Linked DNA regions of Homo sapiens: region 2 is linked to region 1. The links are contacts of gene promoters, found by promoter capture Hi-C in human tissues and cell types (Jung and others, 2019). All regions are on one chromosome and are shown on one strand. The core of a region is centred on a gene start or on the middle of the fragment in contact, and the rest is flanking DNA. Distances in the headings are between cores, read along the strand shown. Region 1 holds the start of ELN (elastin). Region 2 overlaps LIMK1 (LIM domain kinase 1).

The links. The method cuts DNA at HindIII sites, captures the fragments that hold promoters and counts their contacts. A contact is called where the count stands out against the background at its distance.
Region 2: a contact is called between a fragment that was not itself captured here and the fragment with the promoter of ELN in region 1, in 1 of the 25 tissues and cell types used here (IMR-90 fibroblasts).

Annotation. Positions count from the first base shown.
Region 1 is chr7:74,025,267-74,031,787 of GRCh38, forward strand. ELN (elastin) reads left to right here and starts at 2,907. Exons shown (of 33, transcript NM_000501.4): 1 at 2,907-3,003. The coding sequence starts at 2,922. RefSeq lists enhancers at 1,318-2,290, 3,263-4,234. The HindIII fragment of the contact is 22,090 bases long and covers 1-6,521 here.
Region 2 is chr7:74,086,724-74,093,489 of GRCh38, forward strand. All of the region lies in intron 2 of LIMK1 (LIM domain kinase 1), which reads left to right. Among named protein-coding and RNA genes, the nearest start is that of LIMK1, 6.3 kb to the left of the region's middle. RefSeq lists enhancers at 3,411-3,911, 3,912-4,412, 6,068-6,609, 6,533-6,642. The HindIII fragment of the contact is 4,301 bases long and covers 1-4,104 here.

The DNA.
Region 1 (6,521 bases), core at 1,657-4,156:
GAGATGCCCTGTGGGTGACTCATCTGGTTGCCCCTTGGTGGCACTGAGCCAGGCAACAAGCGGGAAAGGCTTGTCAATGATAACGGCAAGACCAACGATCACCAGGCAGCCAGGTGCACCCGGTAGCCCTCTGTGGGCAATTCTGCATGTATGACCTTATTTAGTCATACAGCTAGGCAAGGAGGTGACACTAAGCATTTGAGTACTGATGGGGTCTTGAATGAACAAGTAAATGAATGAATGAATGGATGGTGGCCGATGACTGTCATCTCTAGTTCTTACATTATGTATCTTATGCATCAGACTACACGGCATGGATATTCAGTGCAATGGATTTGATTGTGAATTGAGGCCCCCTTTTGCAATCTTGTTGCATGTTATGTTCGTGGAGCTCCTGCAATGAGCAGAGGCTGCTAAGCAGAAGCAGCGCACAGGCTGGGGGCAGGACACAGGGCCCCCGGCCTCAGGGGAGAGGTCTGTTCCAGCCACCTCAAGTCTATTCCTGTGAGTGCCCCTCCACACCCCTCCTGGATCCCCCCACTGCAAACTCTCTCCCCCTGGCTCCGGACTCTCTCCCCGTCCTGGAATTAATAAAGACTCTGTGCAGACTGCGGTTTGCAAGTCTGAAAGCTGGTTCCTGCCCGTGTCACTGCCTCGAGAAGAGAGGGGTCCAGCTCCCCACAGTAGCCCCTGCCTTCCTCCTTCCCAGGCAGGCGGAGGCACGCAGATATACCATTGACTTCCCCTCCCCTGCAGCAGGCACATCCTGGGCATCGAGCTTCAGACCCTGCCCCTGAGCAGCCCCTAACCCCACCAACAAAGGGTGGCTTGGGGGGGCTTTCACCCCAGCATAATCTCCATCAGCTACCCTCAAAGCACCCCCAAATAAACACACACCGTAAGTAAGAGCTGTACACTGGCTGTGTGCGTACATCTTCAAGACAATTCTCCCAGCATGCCCCTACCTTCCAAAATTCCAGAGCTGCTCCCTCCAAAGACCCAGGGAAAAGGAAGGGTTTGTCCAGGGTCCTGGGGTGGCCCCGTATAGACCAAAGCCTGATAGCTGTCCTAGAAGCAGAGTACTTGCAGAGCGAGTGACGGCAACTGTGGTATTGACACCAGTCCTAGCACCAGCTGAACACAGAGCATTTTTGATCTAGCAGAAATACAAGACCACGTTGTATTTGTCTTTGCAATAATCTCTTAGCTAGGAATACTGATCACCTGTAGACAGATAAGGAAACTGATGCTCTGTGGAGAGGTTTTCCTACCAGAAAGGCTAGAGCCAGAAATTTACTTCTAGGTCCACCAATACCTGCCTTTGACCAATGCCTGCATTTGACCTTTCCACGCTGAGCCACCCCTGCTGGCACTCCAGACTGCCACAGTGCTCCTGCCTCCACAAGGGGTCTTTAACTCATCCCTCGGAGCCATCGTGGTGCAGGGAAAAGCCCACAGGGCGTGTGGCTTCCATGCTGTTCCCTGACTGGCTGTGACCTAGGACAAGGAACAAGTTTCCCTCTCCTATTCTCTAGGTCTCACATTTCTTCTCCTCTAGCAGTAGTGGGAAGTGAGGGGTGGGGGACACGACCCTCCCCTGTTCCATCCCACACTCCAACCCCCAAAATCCCCCAGGGTCCCCGTCCAGCTCAGTCCTGGGGGCAGAAATGCAGAGTTCTCCAGGAACGTGGTCCCAGCTGTTTCAGTGCAGGCCGCCCCCTCCTGGCCACCAGCGGAATGTCAGCCTTCCCAGAGGGGCCGGGAGAACAGCAGTCGAGAAGCTCCCAGACTGGTGTGGGCGCTAGCTGTGCTCAGCGTGGGGATGGGAGGTGACCCAGTGATAATGGGAAGCTGGGCTGCCTGTCAGTCTGCGGGGGGCTCCCACCTCCCTGTTCCCCCACAGGGCACCTGGGGATCCAGCCTGATTTTTACCAGACCCTGCGGCCTGCATGGGGCTGGGTATAGGGCTGTGACCTTGACCCATGCAGAATAGAACCCTGTGTGTCGGGATCCTCCATGTGCTCCAGATGCCCCTGGGGACAGCACCAACATGGCCTTAACTCCCAAGCCATTCCCCTGCCTCTAACCCCCTGGCATCTGCAGGCATCCACCCCAGACCCACCCAACACCTCCTCCCCAGCTTCAGGCGCTAGGCAGAGACCTTGGCCCCTGCAGAATGCAGCCCTGTCCAGGGTCCCCTACCTTCCCCCCAGATCCCTCCCAGAGCAATACCAACCCGGGCCTACCTTCCAGGCCATTCAACCTGCAGCCCCCCGGCCTCTGTAGACATCGCACCCCCCAAACCCCCAGACCTGCCCAATGCCTCCCCTCCCCAGCTTTGGGCAGAACCTGTCTCTAGCCAGACCTGGGGGTGTTGGGGAGTCTGGAGGGCCGGGGTGGGGGCTGAGGCGCGGGACAGCTGGCCCGTATCCTCACACTGGGCCCGGGGCCCAGCCGGAGGGGCGGGGGCCTGGCCACTCGGGCCTTGGCTGGGGCTGGGATTTTTGGCCTGGCCGCCAGGCCCTCCCTTCTGCTTCCTCTCCCGAGGGCTGTCCTGGCAGAGGCCCCCCTCGCTCTTTCTGGCGGGAACAGGGCCAGCAGCGAAAGAACAGTCGCAGAGGGAAAGCGGGAAAGAGATGGGGGAAAGTGTGTGTGTGTGAGTGTGTGCTTGTGTGCATGTGTGTGCGTGTGTGTGTCAAGGAAAAAAGCTCGCAGTCCAGCAGCCCGGGCCTGGGAGGCTTGTGAGCCGGGCCTTTCGTAATTGTCCCCTCCCCGCGGCCCCCTCCCCCAGGCCTCCCCCCTCTCCCGCCCTCCCGCCCGCCCTCTCTCCCTCCCTCTTTCCCTCACAGCCGACGAGGCAACAATTAGGCTTTGGGGATAAAACGAGGTGCGGAGAGCGGGCTGGGGCATTTCTCCCCGAGATGGCGGGTCTGACGGCGGCGGCCCCGCGGCCCGGAGTCCTCCTGCTCCTGCTGTCCATCCTCCACCCCTCTCGGCCTGGAGGTAAGGACCCCTCGCCCCTGTCCCCAGCGCTGCCCACAGCTGCGGGCCCTTTGGGCCAGGTGACTAGACGCTCAAGGGGGAGACCTTCGTCCCTGGGAACTGCAAGGGGTCCCAGGTGGGAGCCCCTCAGCCACTGGGTCCTCGGAACTGCCCCTCCCAGGAGCCAGCCCCGTGCCCAGGAGGAACCTGTCAAAGAGACACCCTCGACTCAGAATAGTCCCAGCCCAGCATCCAGGCTTTGCTGCCCTGCGAGGGCTGAGGGGGCCCCTGCTCAGGTGCCCGGGTGCCCGCCCTGTAGGGGGATCAGAGCATCCTGGGGGAGGGCCCAGCGGGAACCCCTGGGTCTGGAGACACCACAGTCTGCACACCTGTGGACACAGCTGGGGTGCACACCAGCCCTGGGGACAGGGAACCTGGGCTTGATACCAGCTCAACCGCAGTGAGCTGTGTGACCTCAGCAGGTTCCTTGACCCCTGGGAAGCCGGGATCCCCCCGTCAGGAAGGTCAGGGCTCCGCTGAGGATGGGTTTGCAGGTTGGGAAGCTGCTGCTGTGTTCTCCCTGCTGAGGCAGGCAGGGACTCCTGGTATGCATTTGTGTGTGTGTGTGTGTGTGCATGCACACAGGAATGAGCGTGCTGTGTGCTCGTGTGTGTATGTGTGCATGCACAGGTGTGCATGTGTTCAGATGCCCGGCTGTGTCACTGAACAGGGAAAGGGATTTCTGGAGGGGTACATATGTCTGCTCACAGGTTCATCCTTAGGCAGGTGTATGCGTATGTTTGGAGGAGGTATATGAAGCTGCTCCTTAGTGTGTGCAAAAGTCTGCCACCTGACAGACATGTAGACATGTACACATGTAGACATGGGCGATCTGGCATCCAGGTGTGACACTGGTGTGGACTGTCACTGTGTGTGTTATGGAGTGTGTACATCTGTGTGTGTGAATGTGTGTGCGATGTGGCACGCAAGCATGGAAAGGCGGGCTGGAGAAGGTGTCTGTCTCCTGGCAGAGGCAGTGTGGCTGAGACAGAGGCTGGAGTGGATCCTGGGGCACTGCTGGGCCATCTGCTATGTGCCCCAACCCAGGCACAGTTGGTTATGGGGTTTGAGGGTGTGCCCTGTGGGGCTGCTATGCCGCGGCCAACGGGGGAGGACAGAAGAGGCTCCCGGGCATGGGAAAAAGGAGGGCATTTGGTAGGGGGGTCTGGGTGGAGTCTGGTTTCCTCGGGAGTCCTCCTTGCCATGAGAACCAAACGCTGAGTGGGGGGCGGGAGGGCCACGGGGTGGAGTCAAGGGCCTGGGCAGGAGCTGCAGCTGTTTCCGTGAGATTGAACAGCTTCCTGTGCAGGGTCCGCTGCTGGACCTGGATGAGGCCAAGGGACATGGGTACCCACAGGCGGGCCCCAGCAGGGGCAACGAGCCAGGGCCTGAAAGCAGCAGCCCCGGGTCCGTCTCAGCCTCCTCCCCAGGTGTAGCCCCCAAACACCCAGCCACCCTTCTTCCCAGATGGGGCCACCACCTATAGGGTGGCAGTTCATCATCAAGGAACCTTGAGAATTAGAAATTATTATCATCACTTGACAAACAAGGAAGCTGAGGCTCCGGCAGGCTAAGGCAGTCCCCGGGGGTTAGTATCAGCCAGCTCTCTGCCCCAGGTCAAGGGGCAAGGGGGTTAGGAGTGAGCTAGCAGGCAACATTTGGGGAGGGGAAGGCTTGGGGCTGAGTCCTTAAAGCAGGCATGCCCTAGGCAGAATCAGCTCTCTCCTTGTGTCCTCAGTGACACCGCTAAACGCCCAGCTGGCCTCACACTTTGCAGAGATCAATCTCAGCTCTGTCCCAGGTGGCTGGACTTGCTAGGTCCAAATAAGGGGTGTGTGAACTGATGAGCTCGTGTGGGGTTTTGCACAGAAGTGCTACTGAAGTCTGCAGAGGTCGGGGAGCCAACACAGGGAGTGGAGCGCTCAGTCACATGCTCACTGCCACTCACCTGGCTGTCCTGGGGGAGCCTGGCTTCTCCCTCAAGGAGGAGGGTGTCACTTATGCAAGTTCAGCGGCTCCAAGGAAGGAACCCTGTTGCGGGGGTGGGGGAGCAGGAGGAGGGGACAAGCCGCACAGCTCCCAGGCTGTTTCAAAAGTGAGCATGAGAAATTAACCCAGGGATAATTCTTCCCCATCCCCCAGAAATAGTATCAGGGATTTTTTTTTTTTTTTTTCCTGATTTCAGAACTGAAGATGGTTTGGAACAGAGGTTTCCTTTTCTTTTATTTTCCTTTTTTATTTTTATTTTTTTACCTTTTTTATTTTTTTTAAATTGAGACAGGGTCTCGCTGTGTTGTCCAGGCTGGTCTGAATTCCTGGGCTCAAGTGATCCTCCCACCTCCGCCTCCCAAAGTGCTTGGATTACAGGCATGAGCCACTGCCTCTTTTTAAATATTTTTTTAATTATTGTTTTCCGTCCTTAAGTAGGAACAGGGGTTTTCAACCTGGCTATCTATTAGACTTCCCACCCAAGAATCCCTGCTTGCTTTGGTTGGAGAGGGACCTGGACACAGACTTTTCAGGCTTCCCAGGTGACGGTGGGGTCGCCAGGGCCAAGAAGCACTGGTTTAGAGGTCGATCCCGCTCTGTGTGTCTGCCGAGGCCCCGGCATGAGGGCAAATGTGCCCTGTGTGGGAGGGGACACAGTCACCCAGTGGAGGACAGCTTGTTTTTGAAAACCCTTGGCAGCCTTCTGCATGCAAACAACAAACAGCTTCGTGTGGTCTTATCTGCTCCCCAAGCCAGCCCCCTGGACTTTGGTTTGGCAAAGCCCCCTGCCAAGATCGGCTGGCCCCAGGCTCGCTCCCAAACAGGCTGCTTCCAGCTCTTTGAACCTGGAGCCCAGGGCCCAGGCAAATGGCCCTACATGTGACTTGGGGTCAGCTGGGGGTCCCAGACCAGGCTCTTCAGCTCACTGGTTCTCCATTTCCCTGGCTGCAAAATGGGGAGAAACAGCCCTGCCTGAAGTACCTCCTAGGGCCAGTGAGAGCTTCTAGCAATGTAATATCTGGGGGGAAAAAAAGCATCAAATAAAAGGACCGTGGGAATGGGCATTTTTAAAATAATCTATTCTCTTATTCAGAGTCTGCTAATTTGGGCTCATGGATCCTTGTAATTAGTGCACATTGCTAAGGTTTAATACTCCCTCTCACTACTTACACCATGTTTTGTCTAGTGGAGGGGCAGCTAATGTGTAAATAGATGTGCAATGATGAAAGAAGCAGACAGGACTCGGTTGGGGGTGGCCAGAAGGAGCCTTGAGAAATCCAGGAAGGCTTCCCAGCAGAAGTGACATTTGAGTTAAACCTAAAGAGAAAAGTAAATGGGGCCAGGTGCAGTGACTCATGCCTGTAATCCTAGCACTTTGGGAGGCCCACATGGGCAGATTGCTTGAGCCCAGGAGTTTGAGACCAGCCTGGGCAACATAGGAAGGCCCCCGTCTCTATTTAAAAAATAAATGAATATTTAAAAAGAAAGAA
Region 2 (6,766 bases), core at 704-3,203, 61 kb after region 1:
AGCCAGTGCCTGCAATTCAGCCCCCTGCTGGCACCCAGACAGGGGGAAGAGTTGGAAGGAATGTCCCTCCTGCCTTCTGGGTGTTCATGCTCTTGCAGGGAGGGAAGACAAACCAGGCCTTAAGGGAAACCAGGCCACCCTCAGTGTCTTCCAGGCTGCTTGCGAACATGCATAACCCAGTCACACCAGCCCCAGTGTCCAGACACACACCCACAGGTAGGAAGAAAGTAGGGTCAGGGTTGTGGCGGAGGATAAAGAGTACATGAGGACCTGAAGGTCACCCAGTAGGACCATCCTGAGAAGCCAGGAGCAGGGGTCTACCTGCCTTGAGCCAGAGCAGGGCCAGAGCAGGGGTCTCAAAGGATGTGAGATTTCCTGGGTAGAAAAGTAGAGTGGAGGTGGGGCGTGGTGGCTCACACCTATAATCCCATCACTTTTTGGGGCTGAGGTGGGCAGATCACTTGAGTTCAGGAGTTCGAGACAAGCCTGGGCAATATGGCAACACCCTGTCTCCACTGAAAATACAAAAAATTAGCCGGGCGTGGTGGCGCATGCCTGTAGTCCCAGCTACTCAAGAGGCTGAGGTGGCAGGGTTACTTGAGCCTGGGAGGTGGAGGCTGCAGTGAGCTATGATCGCACCACTGCACTCTAGCCTGGGCAATAGAGCGAGACCCAGTCTCAATTTTTAAAAAAGAAAGAAAGAAAAACAAATGGTGTGGGAGAGAATTACAGGCATAGTCACCAAACAGCAAGGTTCAGGGGAGAAAACTCCATAAAAGGGTAGAAGGTGAAGCTTCTGGGATGCCCAGCAGGGGTCAAGACATCCACCACTAGGACTTTATTTTAGGCTTCTGCCTTGGTTTATTTTTTGGTTTTTGGTTTTTTTGAGACAGTCTTGTTGTGTCGCCCAGGCTGGGGAGCAGTGGCGCGATCCCTCCTCACTGCAACCTCCGCCTCCCAGGTTCAAGCGATTCTCCTGCTTCAGCCTCCCAAGTAGCTGGGATTACAGGTGTGCACCACCACGCCCGGCTAAGTTTTGTATTTTCAGTAGAGATAGGGTTTTGCCATGTTGGCCAGGCTGGTCTCGAACTCCTGACCTCAAGTGATCTGCCCGCCTCAGCCTCCCAAAATGCTGGAATTACAGGCATGAGCCACTGCACCTGGCCTCGGTTTGTTTTTTTGTTTCTTCTTTTCTTTTTTTTTACACAGGGTCTTGCTGTGTCACCCAGGCTGGCGTGCAGTGGTGAGATCATAGCCCACTGTAGCCTCCAGCTCCAACTGGTTCAAGCGATCCTTCTGACTCAGCCTCCCAAAGTGCTGGGATTACAAGCATAAGCCACCATGCCCAGCCTGTTTTTTCTTTTTTAGGAATAACGTCTAACGTTTTCTAACATTCAGTAAGGGACAACCCCTGTTCTAAGTACTTTGCATAGTTAGATATTAGTGCTGTCTTTGTTTTGCCAGAGAGAAAATTGGGACACAGAGAGGTTAATTCTCTTGATGAAAGTCACACAGCCAGTGAGTGAAATGAACACACTCAGTGTGGCTGAAAGGAGACAGACAGCATGCCCTGGGATTCTGCATCAGGTGCTCAGAAAGAGGCCTTCGGGGGGCAAGAGGGCTCTCAACAGGCAGAGGAAACCATCTGCACAGCGGTGGGATGGTGCGGACTGCTGAGGGAACAGGAACAGTTCCCTTGGAAGGAACAGAATAAGCTGAGGGATCCAACAAGAAACAAAGTTGAGACCGATTCGTGAAGGGCCTTGAATGCCAAGATAAGGAGTTTCAGAAGTCAGGATGGGGGTGGTGGCTCATCCCCGTAATCCCAGCACTTTGGGAGGCCGAGGCAGGCAGATCACTTGACCCCAGGAGCTTGAGACCAGCCTGGCCAACGTGGTGAAACCCCCGTCTCTACTAAATATTCAAAAATTAGCCAGGCATGGTGGCACATGACTGTAATCCAAGCTACTCGGGAGGCTAAGGAAGGAGAATCACTTGAACCTGGGAGGCGGAGGCTGCAGTGAGCTGAGATCACGTCACTGCACTCCAGCCTGGGAGACAGAGCGAGACTCCATCTCAAAAAAAAAAAAAAAAAAAAATAGAAGGGAGTCGGCAGAAAGCCAGGGAGGGGCTGGGGTGACATGCTGTTGAAGAATGCCATCCCAGTGGGCCGGTGGTGGTATCTAGGCAGGGAAGGGACTGTCCCAGTAACTCAAGGGTCTGAGCTCATAGGACCTGACCTGGGACAGTGACTGAGGATGGAGAGAATTTCAGGCAGAAGGGACAGTTTTTGGTGAGTATTTGTCATATTGGCTACCATGCATTGAGCACTCTTCATGCTAATTTGTTAAATCTTCATCATAACTCTATGAGGGACTGTATGTGCCCAGTTTGCATGGGAGAAACAGAGATTCCATGCAATCAAGTGCCTCGCTGAAGGTTGTAACATCTAGAGCTGGGACTAAAACCTTCTCACTCCACATCGCCACAGAGTAGGAAAGGCAGGGGCTGGCGGTGGCACATGCCTATAATCCCAGCCCTTTGGGAGGCGGAGGCAGGTGGATCTCTTGAGCCCAGGAGTTTGAGACCAGTGTGGGCAACATAGTGAAACCTTGTCTCTACAAAAAAATTAGCTGAGCATGGTGGTGGTGCCTGTAGTCCCAGCTACTCAAGGGCGCTGACATGGGAGGGTTGCTTGAGCCTGGGAGGTGGAGGTTGCAGTGAGCTATGATCACACCACTGCAAGCCAGCCTGGGTGACAGAGTGAAATCCCATCTCAAAAAAAAGAAAGAAAGGAAGAAAGAAAAAGACAGGGGCTTCGGGGAGGGCATGGGCACTGGCGAATGGCAGGGTGGAACCTGAAGCCATCTGGTTTTCTAACCTGGGCACTGGGGAGTTGGTGGTTTGTTGACTCTGATGGAATTGGGGGTCATGTTGGGGAGGAGACATGCTCATCTGTGTTGAGCTGGAGGGGACATGGGCTATCCATGGTGGCTGTGTCCTGCCCAGAGCTAGCCATGGGAGCCTGAGTCCAGTTGGAGGTAGGAAAGTCAGAAAAAACGGCCGCCTCGGAGCTGGCCCTGAGATGGTGAGTGGGATTTGTGATAGGGCCAAGACGAATGAAGGGAAGAACTTTGGGGACCCCTGTGTCTGCGGTGAGGGGGGAGATGGAGCCTTGGGTGATGGAGAGAGGGTCAGGAGTAGAGCCACAGAAGCCACAGGAGGGAAGCCGTGTTACAGGATGGGTGTACCTGGCTTTGGAGTGGCCTGTCCCAAATCACTCACCAGGAGAGGGGTGAGTCCCCAGGTCAGGGCAGTAAAGAGGAGGCATGTTTGTGCTGTCCCTGGTGTAGTGAAACTCAAGAAGGAAGCCAGGTGCAGTGGCTCACGCCTGTAATCCCAGCACTTTGGGAGGCCAAGGCAGGCAGATCACCTGAGGTCGGGAGTTTGAGACCAGTCTGGCCAACATGGTGAAACCCCATCTCTACTAAAAATACAAAAATTAGCCGGGCCTGTTGGTGGGCGCCTGTAATCCCAGCTACTCAGGAGGCTGAGGCAGAAGAATCGCTTGAACCCGAGAGGCAGTGATTGCAGTGAGTCAAGATCGCGCCACTGCACTCTAGCCTGGGTGACAGAGCAAGACTCCATCTCGAAAAAAAAAAGTCTCAATATGGGGAAAGATCCACTAGAAGTAAGAGCCATGGCTTCTACCTCGTGGCTTGTGGGTGTGATACTCCCAACAGTCCCCAAAGCTGGTGGTCCTCACCGCGTGACAGTGAGCAGAGCAGCTCAGAGGGGGTCACTGCTCACCTGGGTGCATGGCTGACCACAGCCAGGCTGGCTCTCAGTGGGATGCCCAAGGTGCTAGACTCTGCTTAGTCTCCCTCGGGCCCTGGGCTTGAGGCATTGGGCCCGGCCCAGACCTCATTTCATGCACTGAGACCTTTGTTCCAGGGCCCCTCACCCCTCTGAAGGTGTTCGGGCAGGGGCAATGTGATAAGGCCATGAGGGGTCTGCAGCCTCCAGCCCCACTGGGGAGGTGGCCAGTGATTTCCACTTTCCTGGCCCCTCTGCATGCCCCTCCCAGTGGAACTTCCTAGGGTCCCTGAGTCAGTCACTTGCAAATAATTATGGCGTGCCCACTCTGCATTAGGCCCCTCTCACAACAACCCAGTAAGGGGGTGCTATTTATTTATTAAAGCGATTTTTTTTTTGAGTCTCGCTCTGTCGCCCAGGCTGGAGTGCGGTGGCGCAATCTCGGCTTACTGCAAGCTCTGCCTCCCGGGTTCACACCATTCTCCTGCCTCAGCCTCCCAAGTAGCTGGGACTACAGGCGCCCACCACCACACCCGGCTAATTTTTTTTTGTTTGTTTGTATTTTTAGTACAGACGAGGTTTCGCTGTGTGAGCCAGGATGGTCTCGATCTCCTGACCTCGTGATCCGCCCACCTCAGCCTCCCAAAGTGCTGGGATTACAGGCGTGAGCCACCGTGCCCGGCAATATTAAAGCGATTTTAAGGCCAAGGCTGGTAACTCACGCCTGTAATCCCAGCACTTTGGGAGGCTGAGGCAGGAGGACTGCTTGAGGCCAGGAGTTTGAGATCAACCTAGGCAACATAGTGAGACTCCATCTCTACAAAAAAATTAGCCAGGCGTGGTGGTGCGTACCTGTAGTCCCAGCTACTCAGGAGGCTGAGATGGGAGGATCATTTGAACCCAGGATGTCGAAGCTGCAGTGAGCTGTGATCACGCCACTGCACTCTGGCCTGGGCAACAGAGCGAGACACTGTCTCAAATTTTTAAAAAGCGATTTTACAAATGAGGTGCAGAGTTCAGTCACTTGCCAAAAGTCTCACAGCGCGTGAGGAGTAGAATCAGGACTCGAACCGAGGCAGCCTGGCTTCAGAGCCTACAGTGTAACCACAGCTTAGTCCCACACCTCCCAGACCAACAGGGTCCCTGCCTTCTAGTGGGCAAGACACTCAGTGAACAAATGTAGTGTCAGGTATTGGGGGACAGCACTCTCAGGAAGTGATGTTTAAGGGACAGAATTGAAGGGAGCAGTGTTTAGAGGATGTCGGGGGTAGGGCCGGTGCATGTGCAAAGGCCTTGGGGTGGGAATGTGCTTGGCACAACTGAGGACCACAAAGCCAGCGTGCGGGAGTGCAGTCAGTGGCCAGGGGTGCATAGAGCCTTGTGGGCCCCGTGGAAGGTGCCGTTGGCTGTACAGCTTTTTTTTTTTTTTTTTTTTTTTTTTTTTGAGACAGAGTCTCGCTTTTGTTGCCCAGGCTGGAGTGCAGTGGCGTGATCTCAGCTCACTGCAACCTCCGCCTCCCGGGTTCAAGCGATTCTCCTGCCTCAGCTTCCTGGTAGCTGGGACTACAGGCGCCCACCACCACACCTGGCTAATTTTTGTGTTTTTAATAGAGACGGGGTTTCACCATGTTAGCCAGGCTGGCCTCAAACTCCTGACCTCAAGCGATCTGTCTACCTCAGCCTCCCAAAGTGCTGGGGTTACAGGCATGAGCCACTGCGCACAGGCAGCTGTGCATCTTTGAATGTCATAACCTGAGCATCTGAGAGCTGCTCCTGTCCCCTGGCCCCTGCTCTTGAGGAAGTCCCACGCTGATAGGACAGACAGGGTCATAAGTGCTGTGATGGGGGCCTGCAGGCTGCTGGAGGGCTCAGCCGGGACCAGATGCTGCCCCTCTTTGTAGAGTGGGACAATTGCTGCAGGCCCATGGGACCTCTGGTATTAGCCCTGAGGGTTGTCACTCCGGGGCCTGCCCCTTTCTGTGTTCTGACCTCCCAGCCCCTTGCAGGCCCTGCCTCCCGGAAGGTTATGACCAGGCTTGGACTGGTCCAGGCTTCCCTTTGGCTCACATACTGCCTCTGCGAGGTCCCCTCCAGGAAGCCTCCTGTGCACAACCCCCAGGGCTGCCGCATCCCTGGTAGCATCTCCTTGGCAGCTGGGTGGGCTGGCCCTGGGCAAGGAGGGCTGAGCATGCTGCTGGCCTGTGGGGTTGGAGCAGCGGCGGGATGCAACCTCCCTTTCTTCAGGGGACCTTTTTGGCGAAGACAAACTGTCCATAGGAAGTCGACCTCTGTTCCCTTGGGGGCAGCAGTGGAAGAGGCAGCTGCTTTTGAGCTTGTCCCTGTCCCCAGAGAAGCCTGAGGCCTTCAGTGCCGTTGCCAGGGCCGAGGCTGAGGAGCCTACAGCGTGTGTTCAGGACTGAGGGCCAGGGACGGGCCACAGGCTCCCTGCCTGGGGTCCAAGCCTAGATCGCTCGCTCCCCACCCGCACCAAAGCCCAGGCAAAGGGTGCTTCAGCCACTTCCTGTTGCAGGCTCAGACCAAGTCCCCTGGCACCCACGCGGCTGCAGCCTCCTCCTGTGCGCTGCAGCCACGCTGGCCCCACCCTCTGCAGCCTCCAATCCTGAGCCCCTGAGGGAGGATGGGGAAGCAGCTGGTCTGGCCACCCCTGCCCTCCCTTAGACCTCCAGAGCCCCCAGTGTAGCCACAGAGGATGCTGTTGGCTTCAGCCCCAAGAAGACGCCGCTTCCTCCAGAGGGCTAAGTAAGTGGGAATCCCCCTCCCTACTTGTCCTGGGCTCCAGGCAGGGCCCCTGGTGTAAGGCCTGGGGCTGGAAGCCGACCCACCTAGGTCCAGGCTCTGGGGCAGAACTGAAACTCCTTGGTTACTGTCGGCTGCAGCCTGGGAGCAGGCCACTGCCAAAGCTGTGGGTCCTTCCAGGACAGTCTCCCCA